Regions from separate parts of the Homo sapiens genome. Here regions 2 and 3 are each linked to region 1. Evidence: promoter capture Hi-C in human tissues and cell types (Jung and others, 2019). All regions are on one chromosome and are shown on one strand. The core of a region is centred on a gene start or on the middle of the fragment in contact, and the rest is flanking DNA. Distances in the headings are between cores, read along the strand shown. Region 1 holds the start of KCNA5 (potassium voltage-gated channel subfamily A member 5). Region 2 has its middle 55 kb from the start of KCNA5. Region 3 has its middle 39 kb from the start of KCNA5.

Region 1 (3,152 bases), core at 347-2,846:
TTCTCAAACCTTGACCCAAGTTTGTGTGTCTATGCGCTGCTATTGCAACACACACTTGTGCACCCAGGACCAAGTTTCCAAATCACACCCTTTGGATAGAGACATTCATTGACAAGAGGTCCTAACTTCACGCATATAAATCTGAAGCAATATGCAGAAACAAAAATAGACAATGAAAACAGACATTCAAAAACACAGCCACTTTATGATAATTTAAAACCAAGAAACTTCTGGAGACTGTGTCTGGCAGTTCCAGACACACACCTTGAAACAGATTCCTCTTGGTTACCAATGCCTGCTAAAACCCTGCAGGGGTTGAGACAGGGCAGGGGAAGATTTCCTAGTGTCCCAACCTAGAAAGATTAATATGTTATATCAGCCATCATCCTGCCTTCTGCAGCAGGGAACTAAAGTTCTCAGGCCAGATGTTGGAGTGAGGGAGTGCTTGTATCAGGAAAAGGGATTATGCATTTCTATAGAGGAGTGAAATATAGGGGACAAGGGCCAAACTCTGATTGTTTGAGTTTGAGTTCCAGCATCATCAGTTTCCACCTGCATAAGCCTGGGTGAGTCTGTCAATCTCTCTGTGCCTCAGTTTCTTCATTTATAAAATGGTGATGATAATAGTACTTACAAAATAGGTTGCTGTAGGAATACACAGAGACAATATTTGTAAAGTGCTGAGAGTGGGCTGGTGCATAATGAGAGCCAAGTAAGTATTGGTTGTTATTATTCCATTCTTGGGAATGCTCCAGCCTTGGAGATTGGACAACCTCCCTGGCTCCCTCTCATAAGCCACCTCCACCCTCAGTCTCCTTCATGGACCTAGATGCAGTTGCTCGGTCCAAGATTCACCAGGCAGGATTAGCCCTCACCAGGATTGTAAAAATCGCTTCTCCCCTTCCCTGCTGTGGTTTTTGCAAATGGGATTCGTTGGAGCGGGTGGAGGGGTTCTGCTGGGTTGAGACCAGACAGCTCATCTCCTGACTAGGCTGCTTGCCTGGGCTGCCACCAGGTCTGTACTGGAAACAGGCTAGGGCATGGGAATCCTGCAGGGTTCCAACCCCCTTGTACATTTTTGTGGATCTGTAGGAAGACGGGAAGAGAGATGCTTCTCCATTGATACATGTATTTCAAGGTCCGTAACTACGTGGCCCCCCTCCCTTCTGTAATCCTTCCCAAAGAAATACCGTTATTTCTCCAAAATAAAAAGGACTGGTGTCTCCCGTCTCTGTCTCTCATACTCCGACTCAGCTCAAAGCCTCGTCCCTTTAGCCCAAGGCACTTCGTTCCTCCTGGAGTCCACTCGGCTTCCAGCGGGTTCCCAGGTGAACTGAAATCCAGAGCTATTCTCATCTGGTTGCCCTGGGAATTTCAGCGCTGTCGGTACAACCTGTTCCTCCATCCTCCCCACTCCTTCCCTCCCTCCGCTGGGCTGCACCCTTCTCAGCCCCTCCTTTCCCTTGCTAGGGGCCCCAGCTGCGCCCTCCGGGGAGACACCCGCTGCCACGAGACCCGGGAGGGGAAGCGGGAGGAGGGGGAGAGGAGGGGAAGGCGGGGGAGGCGCCGAGGGTGGAGGCCAAGCGCGGCGCAGCCAGAGAGGGGCGGCTGAAGGTTGCATCTGCTGGAAGGAGGCTTTTCGGCTGCTTGGTAACGGGCTGCCAGAAGAGAGAGAGGCAGAGAGCAGGGCAGCGGCTTCTTGACGTCAGGGCCAAGCGAGGGGATCGCGCCAGCAACCCCAGCTCTCCCCAGAGAGGGGCCGGCCGACCGCTGGAGCGGAGCCTGACGCCAGGCGCCCGCGGAGCGTGAGTAGGGGGCGCGGGAGCCGGTCAGCTGGGGCGCAGCATGCCCTCTGCTCCCGCGCCATGGAGATCGCCCTGGTGCCCCTGGAGAACGGCGGTGCCATGACCGTCAGAGGAGGCGATGAGGCCCGGGCAGGCTGCGGCCAGGCCACAGGGGGAGAGCTCCAGTGTCCCCCGACGGCTGGGCTCAGCGATGGGCCCAAGGAGCCGGCGCCAAAGGGGCGCGGCGCGCAGAGAGACGCGGACTCGGGAGTGCGGCCCTTGCCTCCGCTGCCGGACCCGGGAGTGCGGCCCTTGCCTCCGCTGCCAGAGGAGCTGCCACGGCCTCGACGGCCGCCTCCCGAGGACGAGGAGGAAGAAGGCGATCCCGGCCTGGGCACGGTGGAGGACCAGGCTCTGGGCACGGCGTCCCTGCACCACCAGCGCGTCCACATCAACATCTCCGGGCTGCGCTTTGAGACGCAGCTGGGCACCCTGGCGCAGTTCCCCAACACACTCCTGGGGGACCCCGCCAAGCGCCTGCGCTACTTCGACCCCCTGAGGAACGAGTACTTCTTCGACCGCAACCGGCCCAGCTTCGACGGTATCCTCTACTACTACCAGTCCGGGGGCCGCCTGCGGAGGCCGGTCAACGTCTCCCTGGACGTGTTCGCGGACGAGATACGCTTCTACCAGCTGGGGGACGAGGCCATGGAGCGCTTCCGCGAGGATGAGGGCTTCATTAAAGAAGAGGAGAAGCCCCTGCCCCGCAACGAGTTCCAGCGCCAGGTGTGGCTTATCTTCGAGTATCCGGAGAGCTCTGGGTCCGCGCGGGCCATCGCCATCGTCTCGGTCTTGGTTATCCTCATCTCCATCATCACCTTCTGCTTGGAGACCCTGCCTGAGTTCAGGGATGAACGTGAGCTGCTCCGCCACCCTCCGGCGCCCCACCAGCCTCCCGCGCCCGCCCCTGGGGCCAACGGCAGCGGGGTCATGGCCCCGCCCTCTGGCCCTACGGTGGCACCGCTCCTGCCCAGGACCCTGGCCGACCCCTTCTTCATCGTGGAGACCACGTGCGTCATCTGGTTCACCTTCGAGCTGCTCGTGCGCTTCTTCGCCTGCCCCAGCAAGGCAGGGTTCTCCCGGAACATCATGAACATCATCGATGTGGTGGCCATCTTCCCCTACTTCATCACCCTGGGCACCGAACTGGCAGAGCAGCAGCCAGGGGGTGGAGGAGGCGGCCAGAATGGGCAGCAGGCCATGTCCCTGGCCATCCTCCGAGTCATCCGCCTGGTCCGGGTGTTCCGCATCTTCAAGCTCTCCCGCCACTCCAAGGGGCTGCAGATCCTGGGCAAGACCTTGCAGGCC
Region 2 (3,152 bases), core at 394-2,893, 55 kb after region 1:
AGGATAAAGCTGATGTAATTTGTTTAGATTCAAGATTCTCCTGCATATTGGTCTTCATCACACCCATAGCATAATTGGTGGTCCAAAAAATACAGACAAAACAGAAATAGTACACGAGCTTCATGTCTGGCTTTGTACCACTGCTGGGGTAAAGCTGCTGAGTGGCCTTGTTAAAATGGTGAGTTTGTCTGCCCTAGGAGAGGTGAGAACCCTGATACTGACCCGCTGGACAGAGTGTCTTGGGAAATGGCCCTAGAGCAGAGCACAAGCTCCTGAGGGGCCTGGAGACCATGTGTTCCGTGGCCTTCCTCAGCCTCTTCTGCCCTCACACTCCATAAATCTGAATTTGATGAGGACGGGCAATGATTGGAGATGCTCCCTAGCGAGGCAGTGCCAAGACCCCTGCCCCGGAGGGTCTGTCAGCGCCTGTGATGAAGTAATTGAAGGGGGGACAGCTGCATGTGTCTCAGTAAACAGATGAACTCAGTCAACACCCTCAACAGCAACCAGCACAGAAGAGCAAACCCATGAGGCCACCTGGCTCTGGGGCCAGCACATGGAGCAGGAAGAAGAGACCCTCCCATCCCACCCCTCAGATCACTCTCAGGAAAACAACTCCCAGAGAGGTGAAGCGACTTGCCTGAAGTCACGCATCCAGCCTCTGGTAAAATTCAGGCCTAGAGCCAAAGTCTCTGAGATCCCATTCAACTACTTATCCACCAGACTAAGTCTGGAGGAATCACAGCCCTAACACCTCCAAGTCTGCCGCAGTCCTCCATGAGAGCCCCAGGGTCAAGGGGAGTACTCAAGGTCATGCAGTCCAGTCTCCCACTTCTCTGCAAAAGAGCTTGGTCCCTGAATGCAGGTGACATGTTGGGTGCAAAAAGTCTTGAATTTAGACTAACTGATTTGTGCTGTGACTGAGGCAGCTGTCTCATTCTGAGCTTCTCTTGTTTTCTCTGTTCAGTGGGGAAAATAATAAAATTCCTGGCCCATTTGACCTGGGATTTTTTAAAATCACAGAATCTCCCAGTTTCTAGTTGGAATTCAAAAAAAAAATTTGTTGAGTGAATCCTGATACTGGAGCCCGTTCCAATTGAGTTCACATACAACCAGGAGAGCACGTGAGGAGCATTACAGTCAGACCAGCTCCACCTTGGTCTATGAGGGTGGGAGAGTCAGTGTCATTGCCACATAGAGGAGTAGAAGGGAGGCGGAGGAGTTAGACCACTTTTCCTTGGGGTTTCAGACGGTGCTTTATGAGCCTGGAGTGCTGGGACCTCATTCAAGGCAAGGCACTGTGCTTTCCTGTCTCCTGGGTAAGTCACTGAACCTCATTGAGCCTCAGTTTCTTCATCCACAAAACAGTGACAAAAATCTCTCCCTTATTGGGAGGCAGCAAGGACTAGATGAAATAATGCACTTTGTCAAGCACTGTGACACAATGTGAGCCATTGCTACTCTGTTTACTGATGACTGTTAATGCAGGGAACCATTTAAGCTGACACTTGTGATGGATCCTTATTCCCAAGGTCATTCAGAAAAATTCAGTGCTTCCTGCAAACCCCCTTCGGACTAGGGCTGTACCTACACCTCCAGATGGCATCCAGCTGTCCACTGTCCACTACACTGGTAGGGTCTGCTCTGCAGATTCCTGGCTGCACCTCGCAGTATTGCTCCGCACAAGGGGGCGACAGCGGAGGGCTGCGAAGTGCATCGGCGATGCACATCTGCCATGCGCGAGTGCAGGGATGGGCAACAGTTCCAGCCTGGCCCTCTGCACCTTAGATGCTTTTTCTCGCAGCGTGCCCAGCGATCATGTTGGAAGGTCTCCAGGGGGACAGGCTGCAAGAGGTGGATGCTCCTTTCCCTGTTTTCCTCCACCCCTATTCCTCCTCCTCTCCGTCCCTATCTTTAAAGAGTCTACACGGTTCCTTTCTTCTCTCTTCCTTTCTTACTAACTTGAACATTTTAATCAATATGGCACCTCTCTGGGGTCTCCACACTGTCACTGCAATTTGCTGTGGTTCGGTGGGTGAATTTTCTTTCGCCTTTTAGCGGGAAACAGAATGATTTCCATGATAGAAGCCGACTGGTCCGGAGAGGCCTCTACACAAAGAGCACTATGAAGAAAGGAGACAGCTGGCTGAAAAGAGAGAAGGGATTTGGGGAATTGAAATGCCTTATGATATTGGACTTAAACGTGGAAAATTCACTGCTCTGCATTGCTCAAATGCCTCTGAATTAGAGCAGAAGGGCTATCAGTTAATTTTCTAACTCTGGGTAGGAATTTCTGGCCCAGAACTTTGCAGGATTTTTTTGTTTTCCCTGACTGGTACGGTGTCCATCTACACTCATCACTTCCTTTATGGTCTGGACTGACCCATGGCCTGCTCAGCTGGCAGGGCTGTGGCTGGTTATCCCTCTGCCTTCAGGGAGGATGGCATTCAAATCACTGCAGAAGAGATGCTGCCTCTAGTTACCTTCAGCCACCTCTTCAGGAACAACGACCTGGGACACCTTTGTGAAGTAGTATGGCATATTGGGAAGAGCACAGGACAAAGGACAGAAGATGGGGTTTCCATCCCACCTGCCACTTACCTGCTGATGGCCTAGGAATGATCACTTCTCCCTCTGATCTGCTTATCCCTCAGCTGTGAAGCAAGGGATAAGGTTTTGACCTTTTTTCCTGAGGTCACTGGGGAGCCCATACAGTTCCAAGTAGGGTTTTGAGGATCAGATTTCCTTGAGGAGTTATTGACCCAAAGAGTTACAGCAGAACAACTGGGAAGTTTGGAAGTTAAATTTTTAAATGCTTTTTACAGTAACCCTATCATACTTAATTGCATTCTGTAGTTCAGCTGCCCCTATTATTTTTAACACTTAAATACCTTTATTTATGCACACTTTTCTACGCATAAGAGTTTTACCTCTGCCTCCTAGAACTTGGAAGTAAGTATTAGGACTAGATCATCTCTAAATTTCCTACCCTCGAACTCCAATTTTGCTGTAAATCCTGAATCCAGTTGAGCACAATTCAGACTGGAAATGTTATGGGTCTTGGTTTCTAAACCTACTTTTTCACAACCCTTTCCTTCTGTGACTTGCCCCACGGTGAGCTCCTGTCAGCAGACAGCTGCAAACATCAGCAG
Region 3 (3,152 bases), core at 311-2,810, 39 kb after region 1:
GACGCTCCATCCTTGGAGGCTGCCACTCTTTAGCCCCTCCTCCCCTGCCTGGGAACGTGCTTGGGTCTCTCTTCACAGTTCCCCATTGGCTGGCGGAGTGCTCGGATGGACAGTGACCGTCTGGTGACCCAGCAGGGCGGAGGGAAGCTTTGGATGAGAATCCTCGGCTTCCCTGAGGACGCCTGAGGGTGGGGAAATAATCTCCCTTCTTCTCCAGCCATACAAGTTGCTTATCCCAGTTTCAGCTTTCTATGGTTTCAAAGATATATCCAGCTTTATCTGTTATGACGTAATTGAGGTGGAGGTAGAGGAGTTCAAGAAACGGAAGGGGGGTATCAGCTAGTTTGTGGGGATTTTCCTTTGTAGACCAGTATTAATGTGCGAAGCCCTTAACACCGAACAAGAGAAACCAGGGTTTTATTAATGTTAAAATTTCAGATAGAAGGTATGCTTTGGCGTGGAATAGGATCATTGTCGACATTGACGAAATAACACAATACATTGGGATTTTGAGAGATAGAAAAGAGGAAAAAGGAATTTCTCATCTTTCATAGAGAGAGGTTAACAGATACTGTCCACATTTGCAAGGAAATACTAATCTTAAAATTCTAAGTATTTTAAAAGTTTATTTATGTTTAAAGTAATTTTAGGTATGTTATTTAATGTCACAAAGATAAGTACTAGGGAAAAATTAAAATAGTTACTGATAAAAATTAAGATCCAGCGAGGAGAGGGTATGAGGTTGCAGAATTCAACAAATTCCCTATCTGTGACACTTGGTAGACAACAATTTCTGTTAAAATTAGGTAAATCAGCAATAGAAGCATAAACATTTTGTTTTCTACTAAGATGGTAACCATGAGAAGAACAAAAGCCAGAAACTAGTCATTGCGGTTATCTCTGGAGGGCAGAGGAGGGAGAATTTTCTTGTTTCATGTCTTTCTGTGATGTAGCTATTTTTTAAGATCATGGGCATGCAATTATTTCTATAATAATAAAAACCACTTAATGCATTTAATGGGTCAGAGATAATTGTATCTTGGTCAGCAGAATCTAGACAGAGAAATGTTTTGATTTCTGGGACTGCCAAATCTGTCTTCTTAAGCAAGATAAAGCCATGGAGGTCAGGAGGGATAAGCTGGCACTCTGTGACAGCCGGGTGGGAGAGGGGGCAGATAAGGCTCACCTTGCTCCAGCGGAGGGAGCATGGGAGTGAAAGAAGAAGGCCGAGTGCGTGTTAAAGGGTCAGGCTACTGCGGGCACATTGTTTCTTCAAGGGTCAGGAATATTGTGTCTAGGAAGACTATCTGGAGAATAAGAATTTTTCTACCTAGAGAACAGGAAAAAGATTAGAGAAACAGACACACACACACACACACTCACACACACACACACTCACACACACACGCTAGAATGTTGTTACTGTATTTTTCTCTTGGTTCTGTGGTTCCCCACATTCAGTAATTGGCCTTTCTGACTATTTCAGGGCCCTATATCGGAGCCCTTAATTTCTTTAAATTAAGAAATAGTCTAGAGAAAACAAAAGACAAAAGATGTGTTAGCTCAGATGCCATTCTGTGAAAAGGAAGCATTCCCCAGCACAGGTGAGATTCCTACTTATGTAGAATGATGGCAAATACAAGCTGAGACTCTAGTTCCTGACTCTTAATAGGGAGCTCTTTGTTCCAAAGGAAACTTCTTCTGCAGTGTCCCTAAAAACCACAGTGCCAGCGCCCCATCCTTCTGCAATTCCCACTGTGCCCTGACCATTGCCTATGCTTCACAAAGCTTTGTCTAGGAGCCTGAGGCTTTGGTCCTTTAGGAACCTCAGTAGATAAGCTGGAGTTTCCCAGTAGGTTTCCAAAGTGGTACTCAAATTTCTGATTTATTCTTCATTCATTTTAACATAGAAAGATGTCCTTTTCCTTCCCCCCTGACTAAGGTACCAAGAACTTGCTCAGGTTCACCATGGGAGGGTGGAAAAGCCCTCAGGACTGTGCAGCCAGTGGGAACATACACCATCGTCCTTCTGCAAAGCACCTCTCCCTTCCCCATCCTCCAAAACGCATTGGCCCAAACCACCACCTCCAGCCTTGATGTTGAAAATCCAACCCCCATGTTGGGCTATACATGTGTCAACCCTCACTGATGCTTTTAATTTCATCTCCTTCTGTTTTTTATGCATCATGTACTAACCTTCTTTCTGGACATTGTGTAAGCTTATGCCTCTGTGTCTTGGCACCACTTCTCCTCTGTGCCCGGAATGGCCTTCTTTGCCTCTCAGGTTTTCAAAACTTTACTTGATGACCCCTCAGGCCATTAACTGGTGTATCCTCTGGGCTGTTAGAGCACTGTATGTTAGTCTTGGCACCTTGTATCTCATTCATGTGTCAGTCATCTTCCAGATTCCCTTAAGGTCAGAAACTTGTGTCTCATCAATCTCTATGCCCAGCCCCTGGCACAGCAGCCATGCCATCCCCAGCACACACCAGGAGGCTCCCACATGTTGTAGGTGTGAAGATGAGCTTTGAGGTCTAACTGAGTAGAAGTCCCAACTCTGCCACTTACTTGCTGTGGGACTGGGGCAAGTTAATACTCCGTGCAATGAGGATTGCCTCCACTTCATTGGTTTGCTGTGATGATGAAATCAGATTGTTCCTGTAAAATGCTTTGTGCATGTATTATGTACTCAGTCAAATTTACCTATAATTATTAAATGAAAGGAATGTAGTGCACAATTTCAGATTTTTTTTCTGCCCACATTTTCTCTTATCTTTTCTAAAATTCCTAAACTAGGTAGCAAGAGCTGCAAGAACTTTCAGAGCTTGGAGACAGGCCCTAAAATCACAAGAATAAACCAACCTTCATGTGCTCCAAAATATGCCTCCTGGGTTGGAAGCAATGACAGGTTTCTGCAGAAGCTGGCTTTCCCATCGCCTGTCTCTAGACTGCTAAAGGGGGCTATCATTTGGAAAGTCCTCTAAAGATGGAAGTCTCCATTCCATTGGCGAGCGCATATCAACCCTGGAATGTTCTTTTTCCTGACTCATTTCCATCCATCACAACGAGTGTAGTTTTAGGCCCTCTGCCCTTATTCTGTCACCACAGACTTGTATCCCATAGAAAACTATTTCAAAGCCTGGAGCGTCTTC

What was found. The method cuts DNA at HindIII sites, captures the fragments that hold promoters and counts their contacts. A contact is called where the count stands out against the background at its distance.
Region 2: a contact is called between a fragment that was not itself captured here and the fragment with the promoter of KCNA5 in region 1, in 1 of the 25 tissues and cell types used here (heart left ventricle).
Region 3: a fragment that was not itself captured here is called in contact with the fragment with the promoter of KCNA5 in region 1 in 2 of the 25 tissues and cell types used here (aorta and pancreas).

Annotation. Positions count from the first base shown.
Region 1 is chr12:5,042,283-5,045,434 of GRCh38, forward strand. It overlaps KCNA5 (potassium voltage-gated channel subfamily A member 5), which reads left to right and starts at 1,597. Exons shown (of 1, transcript NM_002234.4): 1 at 1,597-3,152. The coding sequence starts at 1,866. The HindIII fragment of the contact is 15,094 bases long and covers 1-3,152 here.
Region 2 is chr12:5,097,665-5,100,816 of GRCh38, forward strand. No RefSeq gene overlaps it. Among named protein-coding and RNA genes, the nearest start is that of KCNA5, 55 kb to the left of the region's middle. The HindIII fragment of the contact is 8,875 bases long and covers 1-3,152 here.
Region 3 is chr12:5,081,134-5,084,285 of GRCh38, forward strand. No RefSeq gene overlaps it. Among named protein-coding and RNA genes, the nearest start is that of KCNA5, 39 kb to the left of the region's middle. The HindIII fragment of the contact is 3,219 bases long and covers 1-3,152 here.